Linked DNA regions of Homo sapiens: all the other regions are linked to region 3. The links are contacts of gene promoters, found by promoter capture Hi-C in blood cells and fetal thymus (Javierre and others, 2016). All regions are on one chromosome and are shown on one strand. The core of a region is centred on a gene start or on the middle of the fragment in contact, and the rest is flanking DNA. Distances in the headings are between cores, read along the strand shown.

Region 1 (3,924 bases), core at 469-2,968, 770 kb before region 3:
TCTCAATAAAATAAGTAAATAAATAAATAAATAAATAAATAAATAAGGGATGGTTACCTCTGTACTGAACATGTACGGACTTTTTTCCCTATCATTGTTCCCTAAACAATAGTATAACAACTATTTATATAACATTTGCATTGTATTAGGTAGTATAAGGAATCTAGAGATGATTTAAGGTATACAGGAAAGTGTGTGTAGGTTATATGCAAGTATGACACCATTTTATATAATGGACTTGAGCATCTGTGGACTTTATTATCTGCAGGGGGTCCTGGAACCAATTCCCATGGATACTGAGGGATGACTGTACTTTGGTTTCCCACCACTGTGAGGATACAGAACAAAGCAACTTCAGTCACTGCCCTTCCCAACTCTCCAGTGTCTCCTTGCCCTACCTTCCAGCCCCATGTGTGTCTTCGTAATAGCATAGTTGCATTTTTTTTTTTTTTAAGAGAGGCAGGGTCTCCCTTTGTTGCCCAGGCTGCAGTGCAGTGGTGCAATCAGCTCACTATAACCTTGAACTCCTGGGCTCAAGGGATCTTCCCCTCTCCACTTCCCAAGTAGCTGGGGCTACAGGTGCACACCGCCATGCCACACCCAGCTTATTTATTTTAGAATTTTTGTAGAGACAGGGTCTTGCTGTCTTGTCCAGTCTGGTCTCAAACTCCTGGCTTCAAGTGATCCTCCCTGCCTTGGCCTCCTAAAGAGTTGGGATTACAAGGCCGGGCGCAGTGGCTCACACCTGTAATCCCAGCACTTTGGGAGGCCGAGGGGGGCGGATCACGAGGTCAGGAGATCGAGACCATCCTGGCTAACATGGTGAAACCCTGTCTCTACTAAAAATACAAAAAATTAGCTGGGCGTGGTGGCGGGTGCCTGTAGTCCCAGCTACTTGGGAGGCTGAGGCAGGAGACTCCAGCCTCAAAAAAAAAAAAAAGAGTTGGGATTACAGGCATGAGCCGCTGAGCCCAGCCACAGCTGCAATTTCATTAGATTGAACGGTGTGAAATCATCAGTAGTGGGCCACTGTTTTACTCCCTGCATTATTCAATCATGATTGCTTTCAGACTTTCATTAGTTTCACTAGCTTCGCGCTGTAAGAGCCAAGAGGCAGAGCCACAGGGCTGGGCTGCCTGGTTTCACTCCCCACTGCAGGGCTCGGTTAAGCAGAGTGTAGGCTAAGAGAGGAATGGAGAAGGTGGAAGGTGTCTCTCCCTTCCAACGCTCATCTGATGCACCAGCCAAACCAAATACCACCTGGGCCTTTGAACATTGCCAAGCCTCATCCGCTGTTGTCATTTTGCCCACCTCCACAGCTGCAGGGACAGCCGTAGGCCCGGAACTGGGATATCTCTTCCTAGGGGCCTGCCTATCTGCTCAGCTGCACTGCGTTTTAGGGGTGGGGAAGCTAAGGCACGAGATTGGGGTCCCAAAGCATGCCCAGACCACCCAGGCTTCCAGATACTAGGTCCTCCTCCTTCAGGCCTCACTTCGTTGCTTTTCCCCTGGGCTCAGTTCCAGTCCTGGCTGTAAGACTGGGAAAGCCACTGCTTGAGTCAGGACCTCATTGGCTATTTTTGTCCGTGAGAAGTCCTCTACACCACGACTTGGGAGGCAGCCTGGGAGAAAGAGAAATTAGTCGTGGCTCCTTTAAGGGGTCCGCGGAGGCGCGCCCGGCCTTTTGTTTGAGCGGCGGCGCGCGCGTCAGCGTCAACGCCAGCGCCTGCGCACTGAGGGCGGCCTGGTCGTCGTCTGCGGCGGCGGCGGCGGCTGAGGAGCCCGGCTGAGGCGCCAGTACCCGGCCCGGTCCGCATTTCGCCTTCCGGCTTCGGTTTCCCTCGGCCCAGCACGCCCCGGCCCCGCCCCAGCCCTCCTGATCCCTCGCAGCCCGGCTCCGGCCGCCCGCCTCTGCCGCCGCAATGATGATGATGGCGCTGAGCAAGACCTTCGGGCAGAAGCCCGTGAAGTTCCAGCTGGAGGACGACGGCGAGTTCTACATGATCGGCTCCGAGGTAGCCCGGGGCGCGTTCTCGCCCTCCCCGGGCTCGGCCCCGCGGGAGCCCCGGGGCGGGCCCATGCGCCGAGAGCGCGCGTCTCCATTCATCGGGGCGGGCGGGCGCGCGCGCGCGCGCTCGGGGCTGTGGGGCGTGGCCTAGTGGGCGTGTCGGGTGTGGCCCCCGCCCCCTCATCGACCTGGGATTTCCTTACTTATTTCGCCGAGGTCCGCCGCCTTCAGTGCTGCCAAGATTTTGGCGCCGCGAGGGGCCCCAGTGGTTCCGCGCTGGGTTGGTTTCCAGTCAGACGCAAAGAAACGGGATATTGAGTTAGCCCCTGCGACGCTTGGGGGACTGCACTGCTGCCTTTGACCCTTTTTAGATGTCGTAAATTTCACGTGCACCCCTCCCCGTATTGCTACTTGTGGGAACCTCAAATGGCAGGCTGGAAACCCTGGACTTAGTGAGGGCTCATCCCCATTGTGTTTGTTGCCTCTTAGGTGAGCAGTGGAGGTCTTTTGACCTTTGTTTACCGGTGAAGAAACAGATTGGAGGAAGATGTTTGCTTTTGGGTGAATAAGGGCCCCATGCCTAAGCTAGATCTTTCAGCAGTTCTGAAGCGATTGACACTTTCCATATCTGTGAACTGATTCTGAATTATTACAGGGGAAAGAGCCTAAGGATGTTTAACCCTTAACTAGAGTGGCTGCATTTTGTTGCATCAACTGGATGACTGACTTCAGGAAAACTCTACTGGCCTTTGAATGGGTGTTTGTTCCAAGTCTATTAGGTTCTTGTTTTTTGTTTTTTATAGAGACAGGGTCTGGCTATGTTGCGCAGGCAGGTCTCCAACTCCTGGGCTCAAGCAGTCTGCCCGTCTGGGTCTCCCAAAGTGCTAGGATTACAGGCATGAGCCACCACACCCGGCCATATATTAGGTTTTTACAGATTGTCTCAAACTAGCCTTTTTTGCTCCAAAGGCAGTCCCCAGCTAGTATATGTTACCTTTTTAAAAAAATTATGGATATACAGTTCAGATGTACAAATGTCAAGCAGTAGAATCTCATGTAAGGAAGTAAGTGCCAATCCTGGAGAATTAAAGCTATCATGAAATGCCAAGAGTTTCTTCTCCTTATAGCAGTTTTTAGTATCATATTCCAGCATTTTATTCGTACTTTATTTTCTTTTATTTTTGAAAAAAGATCTCACTTTGTGCAGTGGTGTGATCTCGGCTCACTGCAGCCTTGACCTCCTGGGCTCAAGCGATCCTCCTGCCTCAGCCTCCCAAGTACCTGGGACTACAGGTGTGCACCACCGTGCCCGACTAATTTTTGTATTTTTTGTAGAGACAGGGTTTTGCCATGTTGCCCAGGCTGGTCTTGAACTCCTGGGCTCAAGTGATCCTTGCACCTCAGCCTCTCAAAGTGCTGGAATGACAGGTGTGAGCTACTGCACTCACACTCAGCGCATTCATACTTTTTAAACTTGTGGGTTTTATCCTTCACAATTGAGCATAGCATGAATGAATGAAGCCTCAAGATGGTCACACTGAGTCCCATGGATGAGACTAAGGTCAATAGCATCAGAACTTTAGTGTTAGCATTTTCCACCATTTTTTTTTTCTGGACGAGGTTTGACTCTATCACCCAGGCTGGAGTGTAGTGGTGTAATCTCGGCTCACTGCAACCTCCGCCTCCCAGGCTCAAGCCGTCCTCCCACCTCAGTCTCCCAAGTAGCTGGGACTACACGCACACACCACCACACCCGGCTAATTTTTATATTTTTAGTAAAGATGGGGTTTTACCATATTGTCCAGGCTGGTCTTAAACTTGTGAGCTCAAGTGATCTGCCCGCCTCGGCCTCCCAAAGTGCTCGATTATAGGCGTGAGCCACTGTGCCTGGCCTCCACTAATTTTTATAAAACAAA
Region 2 (3,465 bases), core at 745-3,244, 800 kb before region 3:
TTTGGGAGGCCGAGGTGGGTGGATCATGAGGTCAGGAGTTCAAGACCAGCCTGGCCAAGATGGTGAAACCCCGTCTCTACTAAAATTACAAAAATTACAGCGCGTCTGTAATCCCAGCTACTCCGGGAGGCTGAGGCAGGAGAATCGCTTGAACCTGGGGGGCGGAGGTTGCAGTGAGCCGAGATCGCGCCACTGCACTCTAGCCTGGGTAACAGAGCGAGACTCCATCTCAAAAAAAAAAAAAAAAAAAAAAAAAAAAAAAAAGCCGGCCGTGGTGGCAGGTGCCTGTAGTCCCAGCTACTTGGGAGGCTGAGGCAGGAGAATGGCGTGAACCCAGGAGGCGGAGCTTGCAGTGAGCCGAGATCGCGCCACTGCACTCCAGGCTGGGCGACAGGACGAGACTCCGTCTCAAAAAAAAAAAAAAAAAAAAAAAAAAAGTAGCTGGGAATACAGGCTCTACAGGCACGTGCCACACCTGGCTAATTTTTGTATTTTTTGTAGAGATGGGTTTTCGCCATGTTGTGCAGACTGGTCTCGAATTTCTGAGCTCATGCGATCCACCCATTTTGGCCTCCGAAAGTGCTGGTATTATAGGCGTGAGCCCCCTCGCCCAGCCCTAAAGTATTTTCAAAAATTCTTTGATCACTTCAACTCCTCTCACCCTCCCCCTCCTCTTCAGCAACCCATAATCTCCAACTCTTCCAGCTCTCTCACTCAATTTGTGCTTTTCGACCTCATGAAATCCAAGCCATTTTTACTGTAGTTCTCCTTTTCTAGCTCCACCCCTTCTCCATCCAGCTTAGACTCTCCATACTATGCGCATCACTTCAACTCTCACGCTCTAGCACCATGCTCCTCACCTCCTCGTCCGGCTGCAACTAGCCGCTAAGTCCCAGTCTTCTCGGCCAGTTCCTCCTAAGTTGTTAAATGTTGCCAAGAAAAATCATACAACTATGTATGGCACCACGACAAATTTCGAGTTTCCGATTTCAGCTGGGACCTCAGCTCTGGCATTCTATGACCTCCTTATTGCCAATCCCTCTCTTCTCGGTCTTCACCTTCCCACCCCATCTGGCACTGCTCTCCAATACCTCCTTCTCAAAACCCTTCATTTCAGAGGTTGCAAATTGGCAGCCTGAAGATCCTGCTATGTTATGTTTGGCTCTCGAAGAGTTTGGCTTTTCCTGTTCATTTTCCTTAGTTACCAATATTTAAAACTCAGTAGGTTTCTGGCTTTCTCTTGAAAAACGAAGATGTGACAATATCCCTTCACCCGCCCACATTGCCTACCTAGGTGCATGAAAGCTTTGAGCTACCCCCCAACCCCATCCCCACCCTCGCTTTCTTCCCAATTTTCATGGCTTCCAAGTTCTCTTTCTTGATATCTTTAGATTGCAACTCTTCCTCCGCCCACCCATTAAGTCCTGGTGTTCTCAAACTTCCCTCCGTAGAGGTTTTCCATTCCCACTATATAGCCCCTACACCCTGAAGTCTCCACTCAGAAAAAAGTTGGCAACCCTTTATCTGTCTCCCACAACATGATAAGTGTTTTTGGACCGAAAATGCAAAGATCTGGAACTCCATGCTTCCCACCTCTGTCGGGGCCTTCTCCGGGTCCTCCTGCATCTGTCATCCCATCCTCCAGAGAGTCCCTAGGGCCTGGGCACCCTGCAAACTCTTAGTGCAGTCAAGGTTTCCTGGCTGGGGGCCCAAGAGTTGCCACGGACCCGCACACGCTGCCCAGGCGGCGACGTGGCGCCCCTACAGGCTTCCCCGCGATTGGGGACACGCACACCCAGGGCCACCGGAGGGACAGGTGGTCAGGCGGACTCAGGTCACACCGGCGGACGCGGGGCCACTCACCTGGGCCGGGGCGGGGCAGCTCACCTGGGCCGGGGCGGGGCCGCAGGCGGGCGGGGCGGGGCCGCACCTGAGCTGCTCCAACCCGCGGCCGACGCGGCCGACGCTGCCTGGCTCCACAGCAGCTGCTGACGCGGAGCCCGCGGCCGCCCGAGCACCCAGAGCCCCGCCCCCGGCCCGCGGGCACTTCCGGGACCACTCTAGGCCGCGCGGAGGTCCCGGCGTCTCGGTGGTCCCACCGCGCCGGTTGTCGCCGCGCGAAGCCGCCCGGGCCCCGGGACACAAGGACCCGAATCAGGAGAGTCTCTCCAGTCGGCATGGTGGCTCTGGCCGTCCCCGAAGCGCGTGCTGGACGTGGGGGAAACAGAGATGGGCAGGCGTTGGCAGGAGAGCAGAGGAGGAAACAGGTCCGGACGGGCGGGCCGACCTCGAGCCGCCGGCACTCGGGGCATCTGCGCTGGTGCTGGGTGCAAGCCAGAAGCCACTGAGGCAGCTGGGGTCTTCAGGGAAAGGAGAGTGGAGCCCCAGAGCTGTCGACCCTGTCACTGTCCACAGGCACCGGGGTCCTGTTAGGATCCCCCTCCCCCAACCTGCTTCAAGGGTAGCCCTGTTCCTGTCTGCCCTCCCCGCCCCCACAGAAATAGAGATGAGAAGGGGCAGGCGAAGAACTAGGAGTGTCTGCGAGACCATCCCAGGACCCTGAGCCCCCCAACTCTCTGCATCCCAGGGCTGACTTCGACATGAAGCGCCTCCTCTCAGGCGCACCGGGAGGGAAGAGGAATGTGTTCTTGAAATGGCCGCCCCCTTGGCCGGGCGCGGTGGCTCACGCCTTTAATCCCAGCATTTTGGGAGGCGGAGGCGGGTGGATCACGAGGTCAGGAGTTCGAGACTCAGCCAGACCAACATGGTGAAACCCTGTTTCTACTAAAAATTATCCGGGAGTGGTGACAAGCGCCTGTAATCCCAGCTACTGAGACAGGAGAATCGTTTGACCCTGAGAGGCGGAGGTTGCAGTGAGCCAAGATAGTGCCATTGCACTCCAGCCTGGGCGACAGAGCGAGACTCCATCTCAAAAAACAAAAAAAAAAAAAAGAAAAGGAATCTCCGCCCCCTCCTTGCTGCTGATGGCAAGACTGGCCCCTCCACCCAGTGTTCTGCCCATGACACCCCCCCCTCAGGTGCAGCTGCCCAGCTTGTGGGAGAGCTTCCCTCCGCAGACCTTGGCCCAATCACAGGACATCAGGAGAACACACTGTCCCTGGGAAAAAGGATTCTGCCCCAGCCGCCCACCTGCCTTCAGCACCCTCAGCCTTGGCGCTCGAGTGCCTCCAATGCTACCCACACACACCTGCCTTCCTGCCCCATTAATGCTCTGTCGGGCCTTGGGCACAGACTCCAAGGGGTAGGCAGTGGCTGCCCCTCCCCAAGCCAACAGCCTGAGCTCCATGGGGACCAGCCACCCTAGAGCCATAACCCTTGGACCATAACCAGCCATGCAGAGTTGGGGGCGGCAAGGGCTGGTTCCTTTTTCTCCCTCCGGCTCCTCAGGTCACAGGAAGGTCAGGCTACCAGTTTGAGCCCCCAGGGGGCCATGGTGGGGGAGTC
Region 3 (3,965 bases), core at 846-3,345:
ACCCCTAGGGACTCATAAAGAGCTGAGCAGTGGGAGAGCTCTATGCAGGATGTTGTGCTGTCACGGTGAATGCCTGCCTGTTCAAGAACCCCTCACAGCAGCCACACACTGCCTTTTTGTTTTTCTCTACTCATACTGTTTCCTCCCCAGCTTTTGCTCTTGCACATCCCTTAGTCTAGGAGTGTCCAATCTTTTGGCTTCCCTGGGCCACACTGGAAGAATTGTCTTGGGCCACACATAAACTACACTATCACTAATGATAGCTGATGAGCCTTAGTCTGAAATGTTAATGTTGTCTCCATGCTCTAATCCCTCTCACTCTCAGGGCCCCTCAATATGGAGTCCTTAAAGAGGCAATGAGAATTCTTCAGTGGCAGATGGGGATGAGGTTGCATTTGCCTCCTTCCAACCCTCAGCCCAGAGTAGGCACTTAGATATGCTTGGGGAATGGAAGGCGTTTTCCAAAAAGACCTCATACCTTGAGATGCCCAGGCCTACTTGTCACTTCCCTGCTCTGCACCCCTCCTCCCCCAGGCTTCCAGACTACAGCCCTCTGTGTGAGGCTCCCTCCTTACTCTGTGGCTTGGGCTGTGACACTGACTAGCTGGGCTATCTTCTGCCAGGCTATGACTGTCCATGCCTTTCCATGTCCAGCTATAAAATGTGGCACAAGACAGCAGCTCTCTCTCAGAGACTCAGCTGCGCCTCCTCCTCTTGCCCTGCGCTCTAGAACTCCTTGATCCTGAGGCCTGGCAGGCCCCACAGGGCCATCTCCAGCCTCGGCAAGGGCGGATCGGACCTAGAGGTGCTCATGTTGGGGGTGATAAGGTTAGGCGAGGCCTTGGCATCTGTCCCCATAACAGCTTTAGCCTTCTAAACACAAAGCCACAGCCAGACGTTGCTGCCTGGAGCCAAAGGGCTGCCTGGAAGGCCCTGGCCTGAGCTCAGTTAGTGGCTGTCACTAAGGAAGGCAAGCAGTGCACTAGCCTTTAATACTTAACCCATCTCAGACTCAGTCTGCTCAGCTGCAAAAGTGCAAATCACAGTGGGCACCTACTTCACTGGTTCGTTATGAGGATTAATGAGGCACTGCATGTAAACAACTGCACGCAGCGCGCGCCTGCCTCATAGAACACTCCCTGTGAATGTAAGCCATTCCTCCTCTGAGGCTCAGGAAAGGCAAGTATCTTGTCTCAGACCACAGGGCTAGACAACTGGAGGAGGAGGGTTGTAAATCCCCCACCAACTCCACACAGCAGACACAAAAGGGAACACTCCCTGGGAGTGACACCTGAAGGTCAGGGTCCCACATGCTGTTGACCTCTTCCACAGTTGGCACTTCACTTCAGAGTTTACTAGCTAGAACTCCGTTTGTCATCAACCCCGCGCCTTCAGCAGGACAGGAATCACGTCTTCCCCCTCCCCTACGTCTTGGGCAAGCAAACTAACGGCCAAGACATTGAATACCAGTCCGGGTCTCCGCCCCAAAGGGGCTCAGGCTACCGCGTGGCAGAGAGAACGAAAGTGAAGAACAAGAGCAAGACAAAACGCCGAGTCTCGGAGGCCAGGGCACTGGCCCTTCCATTGCTCGGTGCTCTCGGCCAGTTTCCTGCCCTTCCCAGCCTCAGTCCTCCACGGTTTCCCAAGGCATGGGAGCTCCCAAGGCGGCTCCAGCAGGACTTTTCGCTTCTGGGGAAGGTGGTGCCCCTGCTACCCGGACCTTCCCACCATGCTGACAAGGGTCGCAATCCTGCGAGTGTCAGGAAACCCCCACTGACTGGAACCAGGCGGGTGTGGGGGCGAGGCGGGAGTCGGCCCAAGGTCGCGCGACTGGACCCTGCCCCGCGCTAGGGAGGGGTCCCTTTCGTTCCTAGGGTGAAGACTGGGCCCACAGAGAGGCACTGACCGGGCTCGAGCGGCGGCCCCGCTGCCTCCGCCTCCGTCCTCATGACCCGGGCGGCGCGGGGCGCCCATGGCCCCGGCCCAGAGCGGGCTACAGCTTCCGCTTCGGCTGGGGCGGGAGGGCGGTCGGTGCGTGTCGAGTTCCTTCTCCGCCACCGCCGCCGCTGCGGAGGAGAGAACGGGAGGCGGCGGCTGGGCCGCCCCAAGCGCCGCCCCAGCCCTTCCAGGTCTCGAATCTGGAGGCCCCGCCCCCTCCTTAGGCCCCGCCCCAAACTTTGATCTTAGAGGTCCCCAGCCTCTTGATTTAAGTCTGCTCCGGCCATTCGCCGCCTCAGCGTTGAGTGGCCCCACCCTCTCGCCCAATCCTCGCGCAGACGCGCAGCTCACCAGGACGCGGGCCCCGGAAGCCCCGCCCCTTTCTTTGAGCCCCGCCCCAAAGCTCGTGCATTTCCTGAATAGAGGCTCGTCCCTTCGGCAAGCCCCGCCTCTGCCGGGTCCCGCTCTTTTGCCAGTCCTAGGTGTAAGCCCTGATCCCGCCCAGTGCATCCCCGAGGCCCCAAGCAACTCTCCTCCAACTGTCTTTAGGGATAACCCTGAGCGGGCAGCCGCTCTACTCTATACCTAACTTTATCCGTACCAGATACCTAGCCTCACTCAGGGCCCCCCTTACCTGGCGGTGCCGGGATCAACAAATGAAATTGTGACGGGAAGTCCTGGCCCTTGGCCCAACCTCCTGCTGTCCCCGGTCTGAGGGCCCAAGCCCCGCGTCTCCGCCTTGCCGTCCAGCCTGTCCTTGGTGTGGGGTGCTTGGAAGTGTGAGCACCCTCTCTGGCTCTTTGCCGGCCCCAAGGGTCGTTGCGGCGGCCCCCGGGCCCAGTCATCAGCCCTCTTTTCCGGTGCCGGAACTATCGTACTGGTGCCCTAGTTTCCCAGCCGGCAGGCGGAGTGAGGAGGAAGCGGAGGCGAGACCGCGCTCAACACTGGGGAAAGGAAGGAGGCGGGCCCTGCGCGCAGCATTTTGGGAAAGAGTGGAATTCTGGGTGTTAGGCCCGCCATTCGCTTGACTCACGCCTTCGCCGTAGCATCTTTCGCAGCGGACCGAAGAGAAGAAAAGTAGGCCAGAGCCGGTGAGGCTGGGGACGGGCGAGGGGAGGTCGAGGCGCCTGTGAGGGGCCAGGGGCTGGAGAAAGACTTGCTGCATGGAACTCTGCGGGGCTCGGGGAGGGAAGAAAGCGGGAAGCTTGGGCCACCCAAACATCAGCGTCGCCTCACTAGCTCCTGGAAGTAAGTTCATTAGCTTTCCCCTCAACGTGCATGCTTCTCACATTCTGTATCTCTCCAGGTGAGTGTTTTTCAAAGCTTCCAGGCAGTAATCTCGAAGTCATTTCTGATTGACTATCTCCTTCCCCCAAATCCTATGAGTTTTTTTTTGTTTTTTTTTTTTTAAGTAGAGACGGGGTTTCACCATGTTGCCCTGGCTGGTCTCGAACTCCTGGGCTCAAGGGATCCACCGGCCTCGGCCTTCCAAAGTGCTGGGATTACAGGCGTGAGCCACCGCGCCCAGCCGGTCATTTTTTAAAAAGTTCTTTGTATCTCTGCCCCAGTCCCCTTTCAGGCAATGGTCCCCTCATGCTTTCCACACTGTTGCAGCAGTTTTAACTGTTGCAGAAGTTTTAACAAGTTTCTCTGCTTCTAAACCTTACGTTCTATCCATTTTGTAAATAAATGCTGCTATCTTTTCATTGCGTCATTCTTTACATATAATTCTGCAGTGGTTCTCCACTACCTTCAGCATAAAATCTAGACTCCTAAGGCTGAAAGCCAGGGATCCTCACCAAAGGAGCCTGTCCTTTCAACCTCATGTTCTCCTGTCTTAGGTACGCTTAAGTTGAAACTTAGAGTTGTTGCTCATCTCAATAAAAAGTTCACTGCTTGATGCTTTTGATTAGGTCAAGTCAGGTGCTTTCCCTGATTTTCCTCCATGACAAGCATTTCCTGCATATAGCACGTTGTCACTTTGATATTTTCTCAATATCCTTGATAGTAAAATAAGTGAAGGGTTA

Evidence for each region. The method cuts DNA at HindIII sites, captures the fragments that hold promoters and counts their contacts. A CHiCAGO score of 5 or more calls a contact.
Region 1: a contact is called between the fragment with the promoter of SMARCB1 here and the fragment with the promoter of GUCD1 in region 3, in 9 of 17 cell types (non-activated CD4 T cells, activated CD4 T cells, erythroblasts and 6 more). The highest score is 10.5, in non-activated CD4 T cells.
Region 2: the fragment with the promoter of ZNF70 here is called in contact with the fragment with the promoter of GUCD1 in region 3 in 1 of 17 cell types (total CD8 T cells); the score reaches 5.0 in total CD8 T cells.

The regions. Positions count from the first base shown.
Region 1 is chr22:23,785,248-23,789,171 of GRCh38, forward strand. It overlaps SMARCB1 (SWI/SNF related BAF chromatin remodeling complex subunit B1), which reads left to right and starts at 1,719. Exons shown (of 9, transcript NM_003073.5): 1 at 1,719-2,015. The coding sequence starts at 1,923. The HindIII fragment of the contact is 10,586 bases long and covers 1-3,924 here.
Region 2 is chr22:23,749,118-23,752,582 of GRCh38, forward strand. ZNF70 (zinc finger protein 70) reads right to left here and starts at 1,995. Exons shown (of 2, transcript NM_021916.4): 1 at 1,594-1,995. RefSeq lists a silencer at 1,711-2,160 and enhancers at 1,753-2,428, 2,311-2,370, 3,211-3,270. The HindIII fragment of the contact is 6,484 bases long and covers 1,304-3,465 here.
Region 3 is chr22:24,553,043-24,557,007 of GRCh38, forward strand. GUCD1 (guanylyl cyclase domain containing 1) reads right to left here and starts at 2,096. Exons shown (of 6, transcript NM_001284254.2): 1 at 1,907-2,096. The coding sequence starts at 1,949. SNRPD3 (small nuclear ribonucleoprotein D3 polypeptide) reads left to right here and starts at 2,957. Exons shown (of 4, transcript NM_004175.5): 1 at 2,957-3,029. RefSeq lists a silencer at 1,845-2,204 and an enhancer at 2,665-2,764. The HindIII fragment of the contact is 4,396 bases long and covers 1-3,140 here.